Regions from separate parts of the Homo sapiens genome. Here all the other regions are linked to region 2. The links are contacts of gene promoters, found by promoter capture Hi-C in blood cells and fetal thymus (Javierre and others, 2016). All regions are on one chromosome and are shown on one strand. Each heading gives the region's core, a stretch centred on a gene start or on the middle of the fragment in contact. The rest is flanking DNA. Distances are from core to core; before and after follow the strand shown. Region 1 holds the start of TRI-AAT8-1 (tRNA-Ile (anticodon AAT) 8-1). Region 2 holds the start of POM121L2 (POM121 transmembrane nucleoporin like 2). Region 3 has its middle 9.7 kb from the start of TRI-TAT2-3. Region 4 overlaps LINC01012 (long intergenic non-protein coding RNA 1012).

Region 1 (3,068 bases), core at 246-2,745, 360 kb before region 2:
CACCGCATTCACTTATATACTCTTTAAGCTAAAGGGGAGAAATTTTCCGTGAAAGCCAGTGGCAGCCTCACGTGGTGTGGGCATTTATTTGCCTTGGAAACTGCCTGGGATCAGAAAAAAAGAATGAAGCACAGCCATTGCGAGGAACAAAACCTCGTATCTTGCTGCTATTAGTATCACACTCTCACCAAGTCACTGGCCACGCTGAGCCTGCTTTCCTTTCCCTATCGAAACTCGTTTAAAGCGTCAAAATAATATTGTCTCCCTTTCAATATTGAGAATGAAAAAAATAGAAAAAAGTATATATTGCTTCCTAACGTTTCACTAAAAACTAAACAGGCAAATGTCATATCTCTTCTTAATTCCCCATTCCCTAAAACACACCCACCTAGCTGCCGCACTACTCCAACCCAATTTTCTTCAGTACATTCTTCCTAATGCTTGCATCTTTTTTGTTGTTCTTTGTTTGTTTTGAGACGGAGTTTCGCTCTTGTTGCCCAGGCCCAGGCTGGGGTACTATGGCACGGCCTCAGCTCACCGCAACCTCCGCCTCCCGGGCTCAAGTGATTCTCCTGCCTCAGCCTCCCTAGTAGCTGGGATTACAGGCATGAGCCCAGCTTATTTTGTATTTTTAATAGAGACGGGGTTTCACCATATTGGTCAGGCTGGTCTCCAATTCCCGACCTCAAATGATCACCCCGCCTCGGCCCCCCAAAGTGCTGGGATTACAGATTCGAGCCACCGTGCCCGGCCTGTTCTTTTCATTTTTCACAATAAAGGGAAACGAACGTAAATAGCCTTCTCGCTTGACGAATAAGAGGGCGTCTTAATTTCGGATTCAGAGCACCTGGGATTCGATTCGGAGCACCTGTGATTCGACAGGCTTAAATTAAAAGGCCTCCCTTCAGGTAAGTGAAGGGCCCCACTATGGCATCCAGTGGCCCGTACGGGGATCGAACCCGCGACCTTGGCGTTATTAGCACCACGCTCTAGCCGACTGAGCTAACCGGCCACACGAATGCGCTGCTGTTTTAAAGGAAACCATATATAAATTCGTTGATATTTTTGTTTTTCTAAATAAAACAGAACTTTTTTCTTTCTTACTCCTTTCAAGAGACCTTTGAGACTATATTTACAGACTTTAGCAAGGAAGTCCAAACTATTTTAACTCTGAGCCAGACTAGAAAATTCACGGAGAAATTTTTGACAGAGGATGTGGAAAAAGCGCTGTAATAGGATTTTCAATGGTGAGTGAAGGGAACCTCCTCTTTTTATTTTATTTTTGTTGTTGTTAGACAACAAATTTTTTTTTTTGAACGGCACTGCTCCTTGCGGAGTATGGCTAATTCAAAGGCAGTACGCCCAGAGTCGGCAGCCTTCTCTTTTTAGAGTCATGTCAGTGTACTGGATCGCAAGTTGCAAACTTCCCTTTAGTGACTTGTAACTTAAGGACTTATTATTTTCAGGTTGGTTCAAGACAACGCCGCCGAAAGGAAGGCGAATGGGGTTGAGGGAAAGAGCCGCGCCTTCTCAGTGTCTCTGAAGTCACAAACATAAGCACTGATGTAATCGGCGAAGATATTCAGGGGTGGAAACTGAGGTAGCCCAGCAGTACCGGAATTACATAGTAAATCTGGTATGTTTTTTGAGGGTGGTAGAAAAGGGCTACAGAGGTTTGCAGAAGGGCAAGGTTGTGGTGGCACCCCGCTAGGTATTAAGTCTCATTTAACAGCACTTGCTGTGTGTCACTCAAATTCTAACTTGGGAACCGAAGGATTTCAGCCCGAGTTGGAGAGGCCAGAATAAGTGAGATACGCTCTTTCATCCTTGGTCAGGCTACTGGTTTCATCACCTGGAGACAAGTTGAAAGAAACCTCCTGCAGCGTCAGGAACTATCTCTCTACATGTGCCTGGGGTTTCCTTCGTGTTTTTGGAACTTTCAAGATCACTGACGCCTAATAAACTTTTAACGAATATATTAGCAGTTAAATGAATCAGCAAGTAACGATTTTGTTGATTCTAAAACTGACGCTGGCGCGAGGAAGTGTTGGAATTCCAGTGTTACTCTTAATGTATTCAACGGTTAAAGACCGAAGTACCACCAGGAGCTTCGATGTTTTTCATTCTTCTAGTCCTCAAGAGGTTTTATCCTAGGTGTCAAGAACTGAGGCTTCTACTTGCTCAAAAATCACCTGAAAGTAAACTCTCTGATACAGTTCCTGCAGTAACACATCCTCTTCACCGGTCGCAAGGAATTACATTCTGGCTTTTGAGGATCCCTCTTGCACATTCTGACTGGTGTTTATATACCTCCGAAGTTCACATGTAAAGCCATACCAAGGGAATGAACTTGTCATATATGACATCAACACCGGAAGGATTACCCTTTTTTCTCCTTCAGATAAATGGGAGCTAATCTTCTAACATTCCTGTACTCTGTCCTGAGGCTTGTTGGTAGGCAGAGCTCTTCATGCTGTCCTGACTCTAACAGCACCAGCCTGGGTACTTGCTCTTTCTTTTGTAACGAAAACCAAATACTATTGAAGAAAATCTGCACCTGGGACTAGAGAAATCACATTTTTTGCTAGTAACACCTAAGATTAAAATCTGTTCTTCTACCCCACCCCCACCTTCAATTGTGTTTCCCGGATCCAAAAACCGTATTATTCTTTACTTTGCTTCAAATGAAATACTATGTGTTAACGTTACCAGCAGTAATTCCAGACAAAAAGAGGAGTTCAATACAAGGTTTTCTGTCCTTCCTTAACCGTAAACATGATATAAAATGAGGATCAAATCTCCGTTAATCCTAGATCCTAACTATCCCCATATCCTCCTCAGAGACTATCGAATTTCTTACTTTCTTATCTTCCCTAAAATAATCTATGCATAATCAAGCATATCATTACTATCTTCACCTGCATTATAGGCAACACAGCGGAACATCTGTCACAAGTGTCTTGTAAGATATATGTATTGTTTTCTTTTTCTTTCTTTTTTTTTTTTTTTTTTTTTTTTGAGACGGAGTCTCTGTCGCCCAGGCTGGAGTGCAGTGGAGCGATCTCGGC
Region 2 (2,952 bases), core at 407-2,906:
CTATCTCTATTGTTTTGCCTTTTCCAGATTGTCATATATTTGAAGTCATATGTAGCCTTTTCAGATGGTTCCATTCACTTAGCAATATGGATTTTAGGTTCCTCTATATCTTTTCGTGACTTGATAGTGCATTTCTTTTTAGTGTTGAATAATATTCCATTGTATGGTTATGCCACAGTTTATTCATTTGCCTGTTGAAGGACTTCTTGGTTGCTTCCAATTTTTGGCAACTATGAATAAAACTTCTATAAACATTCACATGCAGGTCCTTATGTGGACATTCACTTTAAGCTCATTTGGATAAACACGTGGATTGTGGTGGTTGAATTGTATTGTAGGACTGTGTTTTAGCTTTGTAAGAAATTGCCATACTGTCCTCCAAAGTGGCTGTACCATTTTGCATTCTCATCAGTAATGAATGAGAGTACCTGTTACTCCACCTCCTCCTTAGCATGTGGTGTTTTGAATTTTAGCCAATTGAATGGTGTGTAGTAATATCTTACTGATGTTTAATTTGCAATTATGGTATCTTACTGATGTTTAAATTGCAATCAGAAGTATTTACTGATGTTTAGTTATATATAGCTAAATATTGACATATAGCATATGTCAATGATGTTTGGCATCTTTTTATACTGTTTACCATCTGCATATCTTCTTTGGCGGGGTTTCTGTTTAAATATTTTGCCCATTAATTTTTTACCTTATTATGAGTTTTAACATTCTATGTATATTTTGTATACCAGTGCTTCAGCAGATACATACGTATTATGCAAATATTTTCTCCAGTCTGTGGCGTGTCTTTTCATTCTCTTAACAGTGTCTTTCACAGAGCAGAAGAGAACAGGAGGTGGCCTGAGCAAGGGACTGAGCCAAGTGCTTGTGGAGGGCTCAGGTTCTGGGCCGTAAGATGCGATTTCCCATTCGCCCACTCCGGATCTCTGAGGCCACTCCTGACGGCAATCTGCATGAGTTCTCCAAGTGCGAATAGGAAGGAAACCTGGATTCGGCCGCTGGGAGACACAGGTGGATCTCAAAGGTGGCTGTGCGGCAAATGACTGACACCTACTGGCGGCGTCACGATCTGCAAAAAAAGAGAAACGCGGAAATCCTCAATCAGCTGCTTTCCCGACTGCTAGTGCCACAAATGCCATCCGGGCGGCACAGCCACCGGTCCAGATCTCCAGTCCTGAGCACCTGCGAAAGCCGCCCGCACTCACTCTACGGGGTGCGGATAGTGCTCCCCACTCAGACTCCGGGGATCCCGCGGGCCGACAGATCTGCGCCGGGGCCCTGAGCCGCCTGAGCCTGTACCTTCGAGGCCAGTAATAGTCGGAGCCTGGAAACTGTGCACCCACTCGATTCCAGCTCTGCGCCACTTGGTGAATCCGGACCACAGGGTCCCAGACAGCCGCTGCCGACGCCAGGGGCGAGGCGCAGTGAGCTTCCTCTCGAGTTCCTCTCCCCGCGCCAAGTACTGCAACTCGCTGCGGAGACAGCAGAGGTCTGACCGCCCCGCTGAGGTCTCAGAACAGCAAAGCAAGTTACTGGGACTGCCGAAGTCCCGCGTGTCCCCCGTTCCCGCGGGTGCCGGGCCTGGAGAGTGCTAAGCACCCTGAGACTCGCGCTTTCCTAGCGCGTGAATCCCAACCGTCAACCGAACACTGCGCTCTTCGACTCTGTCCGATTCTGCAGACGTCCGAAACCTCGGAAGCCAAAACCGTGCTTGAACTCACTGCCCGCGCCTCATCTCTCCTCATGGGCAGTTTCCTGAGCAAACTGGAACTTTCGCCCTCGTCCCCAGCCCAGGTGCGCACCGACTTGCCCGAGAGGCCCACGAAACGCCGGCCACCTCAGCCCCTTCACCAAGTTCATCGGGTTCAGTTCGTCCACCGCGCCCACCCTGCCCCACGGTATAGACCTGTGAGGAGGCGGCCAAACCTGGATCCTGCCAATCCAACCACGTGGCTGGCCAACGAGGCCTGGAGGCGCTTTCCCATGAAGAAGTCCCAGAATTCCCCCCTGGGGCCTCTCCCTTCAGACTGGTGGGAAAGTTACTTAAAGCGGACTATTTGGTCTCTTCGACATCCCAGGCCAATTTGGAGCCCAGTGACCATCAGGATCACTCCTCCTGACCAGAGAGTGCCCCCTTCCACTTCTCCTGAAGATGTAATTGCCCTTGCAGGACTCCCGCCCTCTGAGGAGCTCGCAGATCCATGTTCAAAGGAGACAGTGTTGAGGGCCCTCAGAGAGTGCAGAAAAGGGAAAGGGAGGTTGGAAGAACCACTATTCCCTGAGAGTCTGGACAGTAAGAGAAGGAGTCCAGAGACCAGACCATCGGCATTTAAGCCCCTGATGAAAAATGGAACCCTCACTTCTTTTGTGCCCAGGCCTGGGCCGCTGAAGAGAAGTCTCCACTCCTGGGGCTCAGATCACAGCTTGACTAAGAGGCCCAATTGCTCCTCCATGAGCTCCTTGGCCAGCATATACAGAGGTGGCACCCTCAGCTCCAAAAGGAATGCTATTGGCAGCTCTTACAGCTCTTGCAGAAATTTCTCAGACCCTTGGAAGAGAAGTGTTCCCAGTGTATCATTCGAGACACCAGAGTGGCCAATAAAAAAGGAAAAAAGTTGTCATCGGCCTTCCTCTCCAGTCCCACTGGTATCAGATTTTGAGTCCCTAGGAGGATCTGAAAGTTCTGGGCAGCAAAACCAGAAGATTCCACAGCTGCCGTCTAGCCCTGAGAACCTGGTGTCAGAGATCCCACCTCCCCAGCTTGGTTATGCAGTCTCTGATGAGAACTTGACTTTGGGGAAGAAAGCTGAGCTACAGGTAAGCAACAACGCAGGAGAAGATACAACTGAGGTCAACACAGACCCTTTCCCTGAGACTTGGCTTGCTATTCAGCCTTCCTTGTCTCTTGCTCTGCCTTCTTCAGAAACAGATCTAACC
Region 3 (3,175 bases), core at 198-2,697, 330 kb before region 2:
CTCTTGTTTCCCAGGCTGGAGTGCAATGGCGCAATCTTGGCTCACTGCAACCTCTGCCTCCGGGGTTGAAGTGATTCTCCTGCCTCAGCCTCCAGAGCAGCTGGGATTACAGGCATGCGCCACCACGCCCAACTAATTTTGTATTTTTAGTAGAGACGGGTTTTCTCCATGTTGGTCAGGCTGGTCTCAAACTCCCGATCTCAGGTGATCTGCCCGCCTCAGCCTCCCAAAGTGCTAGGATTACAGGTGTGAGACACCACACCGGGCCCATTTTTATTTTTAACCAGGTTTTTGTTTTTATTTGTTTTGATTAACTACTGAATTGTAAGAGTTATGTATCTTGGAAATTAACCCCTTATCAGATATATGGTTTGCAAATTTGTTTTCCCATTTAATAGGTTGCTTTTTTTTTTTTTTTTTGCTGTGCAGAAGGCCTATAATACCAGCACTTCGGGAGGCCGAGGTGGGTGGATCATCTGAGGTCGGGAGTTTGAGACCAACCTGACCAACATGGAGAAACTCTGTATCTACTAAAAATACAAAATTAGCTGGGTATGGTGGCACATGTCTGAGGCAGGAGAATCACTTGAACCCGTGAGGTGGAGGTTGCGGTGAGCCAAGATTGCACCATTGCACTTCTGCCAGGGCAACAAGAACGAAACTCCATCTCAAAAAAAAACAAACAAACAAAGAAAAAGAAACTCTTTTGTTTGATGTAATCCCATTTTTCTATTTTTGCTATTTTGGGCTATGATTTTGATGTCATAGTAATTAAATCATTGCCAAGACCAATGTCCTAAAGCTTTCCTCCCAGAGTTTTATATTTGCAGATCTTAGATTTAAGTCATTAATCCATTTTAGTTAATTTTTGTGAATGGTGTAAACAAGGGTCTAATTTCATTCTTTTTCATGTGAATATCTAGTTTTCTCAACATCATTTGTTGAAGAGATCGTTTTTTTCCCATTGTGTGTTCTTGGCAACTTTGTTAAAGATCAGTTGGCCATATATTTATGGATTAATCTCTGGACTCTCTATTCTGTTATTTTGGTTTATATACCTGTCTTTATGCTAGTACCAGACTGTTTTAATAACTGTAGCTCTGTAGTATATGCTGAAATCAGGAAGTGTGATGTCTTCAGCTTTGTTGTTCTTTCTCAAGATTGACTTGGTGACTTTGGGTTCTTTGTAGTTTCATATGAGTTTTATATGAATTTTATGGTCTTTTTTTCTGTTTCATAAAAACTGCCAGATAGATTTGGATACGGATTGCATTAATTGTACATCACTGAAAATTTTAACAAACATTAACAACATTTCACCTTCATGATTAAGTTTAATTCTTTTTTAAGGGGGAGGGGTGCTACTATAAATGGGATTGTCCTTTAATTTTTCTTTTTATGTAGTTTATTGTTTATTATTTCATGTAGTTTATTGTTACTGTATAGTAATGCAAGTGATTTCTGAATGTTGATTTTATATTCTGCAAATATATTGAATTTTTTCATTAGTATTAACACTTCTTTTTAATGGAGTCTTTAGGAGTGTCTCTATAAAAAGTCATGTTATCTTCAAACAGGCTCAATTTTACTTCTTCCTTTCCAATTTGGATGCTTTTGATGGTGTTGTTTTTTTCTTATGTTGAGACAGGGTCTTGCTTGAACTCAGTCTTCAGGTTGACTGATAATGCATGATTCAAATCACATGATTGGTATTTCTGACGAGGTTATGGGGTGTGGCCAGCCTCATCTTAAAAAAAAATACACTATACCCAAGCGGGGTGGTGGGCACTTATAGTCCTAGCTACTTGAGAAGCGGAGGCAGGAGGATCCCTTCAGCCTAGGAGCTTGAATCCAGCCTGGGCAACATAGTGAAATGCTATCTCTTAAAACAAACAAAACACTACTGTTAGGTGGTCCAGCTTTTCATTACACAGGAAGAGATGGGCTCGTCCTCAGAAACTAATCTAGAATGACATCTGACAAAGAACAGAACATAAATAATTCTGCTTTTCTAGGAAACTAATAACAGAAACCAATAGCCTGTTCTGAGGAGAACTGGGTGGCTAGGATATAAGAAAAATGGTAAGCTTTACACAAAAAATATTTTAAACCATGCATATTATCTATGCAAAATTTTAAAGAATTAACAAACTATTACATGAAATACAGTTTAGAAATGACAAGAGATGGAAAAGACTATATTTATGCTCTGGATAAAATCACTTAGGGGAGCATTTTAAGGATACAGATCTTCTCAGTTTATACCAGAAATAGAAATGGAAATAGGGGTGAACAAAAGTAAACAAACAATAAAGAAATCCAGAAGATCAAAATGGAAAAAAAAAAAAAGAGGGAGAAAGAAAATTTTTCTACTATTGAAATTATATTCCATAAATAATCTAAAAAATTATTGGACTCTGGCCGGGCACGGTGGCTCACACCTGTAATCCCAGCACTTTGGGAGGCCGAGACGGGCAGATCACAAGGTCAGGAGATCGAGACCATCCTGACACGGTGAAACCCCGTCTCTACTAAAAATACAAAAAATTATCCGGGCGTGGTGGTGGGCACCTGTAGTCCCAGCTACTCGGGAGGCTGAGGCAGGAGAATGGTGTAAACCCGGGGGGCAGAGCTTGCAGTGAGCCGAGATCGCACCACTGCACTCCAGCCTGGGTGACAGAGAGACACTCTGTCTCAAAAAAAAAAATTATTGGATTCATTTTCACATGAAGATAAAAATTTTAAAAGTAGAATACTTAGCCCCTTTTGGTGGTGGTGTGATATCTCACAGTAGATGTTACCCAACATGGGGACTAAAACAAACTCATTTCAAATTCTAGTTGTTAGCCAAGCATATATATCAATCTTTCATTTGGCAGGAGTATATGCCAAATCTAGGAGAACCTTGGAGTTTTTAATGCTTAAAATTTCCAATATTCTCATCTGGAATAACCAAAAAGAGATACATTTTACATTTTTTTCCCCTTCTCATCATCCACATCCAAATCACCTTATTTTTTCCTCCTTTCCTTTCTATTCTTCTTATCTCTCCCCATAGTTCTGACTTTACTCCGCTGTACTGTTTTGACCTTCTAAGAATATTTTTGAGCATCTACTAAGTATCATTACATTGGACTAATTATTTGAAAGGTTTTTTTTTGTTTTGTTTTGTTTT
Region 4 (3,008 bases), core at 102-2,601, 390 kb before region 2:
AGCTCCTGTCTTCTTGCTCAATTGCCTTTGTCCCATGGCTTTCATCACGGATGTATGATAGCTGCTGTTCCTCCAGGAATTCTCTCTGCATTCCTGAGAGGCAGAAAGAAGGGCAAAAATGCACAGGGCAAAGAATTGATGGAGTGTTCCAGCCAAGTTGCTCCCTTTCAAAAAATGTTTCCCGAAAACCCTAAATGACGCTGACTTGAATCACAATGATCAGATCCAGGTCACATGTTACCCCAACTACAGAGAAATCAGAAAAAGAAAGAATTTTTAGTTCTCCAGCCACTGTGGTGAAGGAAATCAAAGAAGAATGCAGTTTGAGACAGATAATATATTTCACTTGCCTGAAGGGTACCCATGAACACCAAGAAACTCGTGCAAAATATCAAGTGTATGTGTATTTTTCTGAAGAGTCAGTCCACAGCTTTCATGAGATCCTTAGAGTCCAAAAACAAGGGCTTTCAAGCCCTAGTTTCTTGACTTGAGGGCCTAAATGTTTTCACAAAAAGGATGTCTGCTCCTTTTCATCCCCTCTGTCTGCCATCACGTCAAATAATAAAACCTGAGGGCATGGAACTCTCTTAATTGCTGTATCCTTTCCTTTTTTCTAAAAGAAGATTGTGAATTCATTGTAAATGCTGCTTATACTATTATATACTTGTCTATAATTTGTCCTAAAGTATATTCTTTGGTGTGTGTATTTTTTTTTTTTTTTTTTGAGACAAAGTCTCGCTCTGTCGCCCAGGCTGGAGTGCAGAGGCGCGATCTCGGCTCACTGCAAGCTCCGCCTCCCGGGTTCACGCCATTCTCCTGCCTCAGTCTCCCGAGTAGCTGGGACTACAGGCGCTCGCCACCACGTGCGGCTAATTTTTTGTATTTTTAGTAGAGACGGGGTTTCACCGTGTTAGCCGGGACGGTCTCGATCTCCTGACCTCGTGATCCGCCCCCCTTGGCCTCCCAAAGTGCTGGGATTACATGCATGAGCCACCGTGCCCGGCCTGGTGTGTGTAGGTTTTTAATGTGATTTCCCAAATAGATAATATACTTTTTTTTTTTTTTTTTTTTTTTTTTTTTGTGAGACAGAATCTTCCTCTGTCACCCAGGCTGGAGTGCAATCGCACCATAATGGCTCACTACAGCCTCAAATTCCTAGGCTCAAGCCAATCTCCCACCTCAGTAACCTGAGTAGCTGGGACTACAGGCATGTGCCAATATACATAGCTAAGTTCAATTTTTTTTGTAGAGATGAGGTTTCACTATGTTGACCAGGCTGGTCTTGAACTCCTGGGCTCAAGCGATCCTCCCACCCTGGACTCCCAAAGCATGTCCTTGTATGTTTTCGTCCTTTGTCATTTGCATAAAGTTGGGGAGCAAGGAACATTAACATCCGAAATAAGTTGCTGTGTCCTGAATTTCAGCCTGGCAATAATACTTGGAGATTTGTGTTCTCTGACTGAAGAAACCAGAAGGGTTTTTAAAGATGAGAGGCAGTAACTGGATTTATTCTGGGGTGTCTGAAAGACTGACTAATTCAGGAGTAAAACCTAAACACTGAAGGATTTGCATTCTTCAACATATGACTTTCACTTAATGGGAAGACGGAAGACTTATCAACAAAACTACTGGGATCATCTGGAATCTCACCCTGAAAACACTTAGATCAAAAGTACTAATTGTGAAGTATCAGCTGAACAGTGTATAAAACAGGTTGGAAATGAGTTCTAAAATTATTAAAATGTTAGAATTGAGAAAGTTTAAATCTATTTAAGAATAGCACATAGGTTTATATTCTGGGTAAAATGCATTTAGAAAGTTAACGTTTGCTACTCCTGACAGTAATGAGTCTGAGTTCGGTAGAAAGAGCCTTCCCATCTACAAATCAGCCAAGAGAATGTTCCACTGTGCAGAGAACAAGCGATTTACAAGAAATGGGGAATACTTTTTAAAATAACGAGCTAGGCTGGGCGCAGTGGCTCAAGCCTGTAATCCCAGCACTTTGGGAGGCCGAGGCGGGAGGGTTGCTTGAGCCCAGGAGTTCGAGACCAGCCTGGGCAACATGGTAAAACTCCATCTCTACTAAAAATACATACAAAAAAATAAAATGTAGCAGGGTGTGGTGGTGCATGTCTGTAATCCCAGCTCCTTAGGAGGCTGAGGTACAAGAATCACTTGAACCCAGGAGGTGGAGGTTGCAGTAAGCCAAGATCGTGCCACTGCACTCCAGCCTGCGGGACAGACTGAGACACTATCTCAAAGAAACAACAACAAAAAAGAAATAAAATAACAAGCTAAAAAACTTTAAAAAGTCAGTCTTTCAATAAAATTAATTTTTGTTTTGTCCCAACAATGTTATGTTTAACATAGTTTTGTACCACTTTTCACAGTGAATCATTTTTATTTTTTTAATATCTAACTCAAGCCCCAACTTTTTTTTGCAGTTGAGATAATCTGACTTTCAATCAGCAGATGTATTAGCTCCCTTATGTTGGCCTTAACCTCTTTATGGGTTAAGAAAATTTGGAAAAGGTAAATGGTCATTTCCAAGTTAGGCTCTCTGATGAGAAGAATTCCTGAAATTTGAAAATACGCTGATCAAGTTCAGAGTCTCAGCTTTTGGTGTCTGTGCCCTTTAAACATCAAAAAAGAGAAGTGTGACAAATTGATTTTGGGCGGCCATAAAACCATGTTAAATGTTAATATGAATAGTTTCCTTAAATATGGAATTCCCTGCTGTCAAATGGGATGTTAGAAACTGGTTAGAAATTAGTCATATTTGCAAGCTCCCTTACTAGCAGATATCATGGGTTGAACTGTGTTCCACCAAAATTCATACGTTGAAGTCCTAAAACTTGGTACCTCAGAATGTGACCCTTATTTGGAGACAGTGCCTTTAGAGAGTTACAGTGAGGTCAACTGAAAGTAGGTCATTAGAATGTGACCTAACCCATCCTAATATGGCCGGTGTCCTTTTAAAAAGGGAAAATTTGGATACAGACATACCA

The links. Contacts are between HindIII fragments. The CHiCAGO score rates a contact against its expected background, and 5 or more counts as called.
Region 1: a fragment that was not itself captured here is called in contact with the fragment with the promoter of POM121L2 in region 2 in 7 of 17 cell types (total B cells, naive B cells, total CD4 T cells and 4 more); the score reaches 13.0 in total B cells.
Region 3: a contact is called between a fragment that was not itself captured here and the fragment with the promoter of POM121L2 in region 2, in 2 of 17 cell types (erythroblasts and M2 macrophages). The highest score is 5.3, in erythroblasts.
Region 4: a contact is called between a fragment that was not itself captured here and the fragment with the promoter of POM121L2 in region 2, in 3 of 17 cell types (naive CD4 T cells, M1 macrophages and naive CD8 T cells). The highest score is 8.3, in naive CD4 T cells.

The regions. Positions count from the first base shown.
Region 1 is chr6:27,666,527-27,669,594 of GRCh38, reverse strand. It overlaps TRI-AAT8-1 (tRNA-Ile (anticodon AAT) 8-1), which reads right to left and starts at 1,012; the gene lies at 939-1,012. It overlaps LOC124901292 (a long non-coding RNA gene), which reads left to right and starts at 1,022. Exons shown (of 2, transcript XR_007059535.1): 1 at 1,022-1,247; 2 at 1,467-2,623. RefSeq lists silencers at 858-1,047, 794-1,076 and a cis regulatory region at 636-1,154. The HindIII fragment of the contact is 4,511 bases long and covers 1-3,068 here.
Region 2 is chr6:27,310,977-27,313,928 of GRCh38, reverse strand. It overlaps POM121L2 (POM121 transmembrane nucleoporin like 2), which reads left to right and starts at 1,656. Exons shown (of 1, transcript NM_033482.4): 1 at 1,656-2,952. The coding sequence starts at 1,759. It overlaps LOC105375107, which reads right to left and starts at 1,760. Exons shown (of 3, transcript XM_011515048.2): 1 at 1,737-1,760; 2 at 1,315-1,606; 3 at 193-1,084. The coding sequence starts at 1,760. The coding sequence ends at 717. RefSeq lists a silencer at 1,305-1,599. The HindIII fragment of the contact is 14,547 bases long and covers 1-2,952 here.
Region 3 is chr6:27,639,517-27,642,691 of GRCh38, reverse strand. No RefSeq gene overlaps it. Among named protein-coding and RNA genes, the nearest start is that of TRI-TAT2-3, 9.7 kb to the right of the region's middle. RefSeq lists an enhancer at 1-84. The HindIII fragment of the contact is 1,285 bases long and covers 805-2,089 here.
Region 4 is chr6:27,703,877-27,706,884 of GRCh38, reverse strand. The region is part of intron 2 of LINC01012 (long intergenic non-protein coding RNA 1012); the gene reads right to left. The region is part of intron 1 of LOC124901291 (a long non-coding RNA gene); the gene reads left to right. Among named protein-coding and RNA genes, the nearest start is that of LINC01012, 11 kb to the right of the region's middle. The HindIII fragment of the contact is 4,279 bases long and covers 1-3,008 here.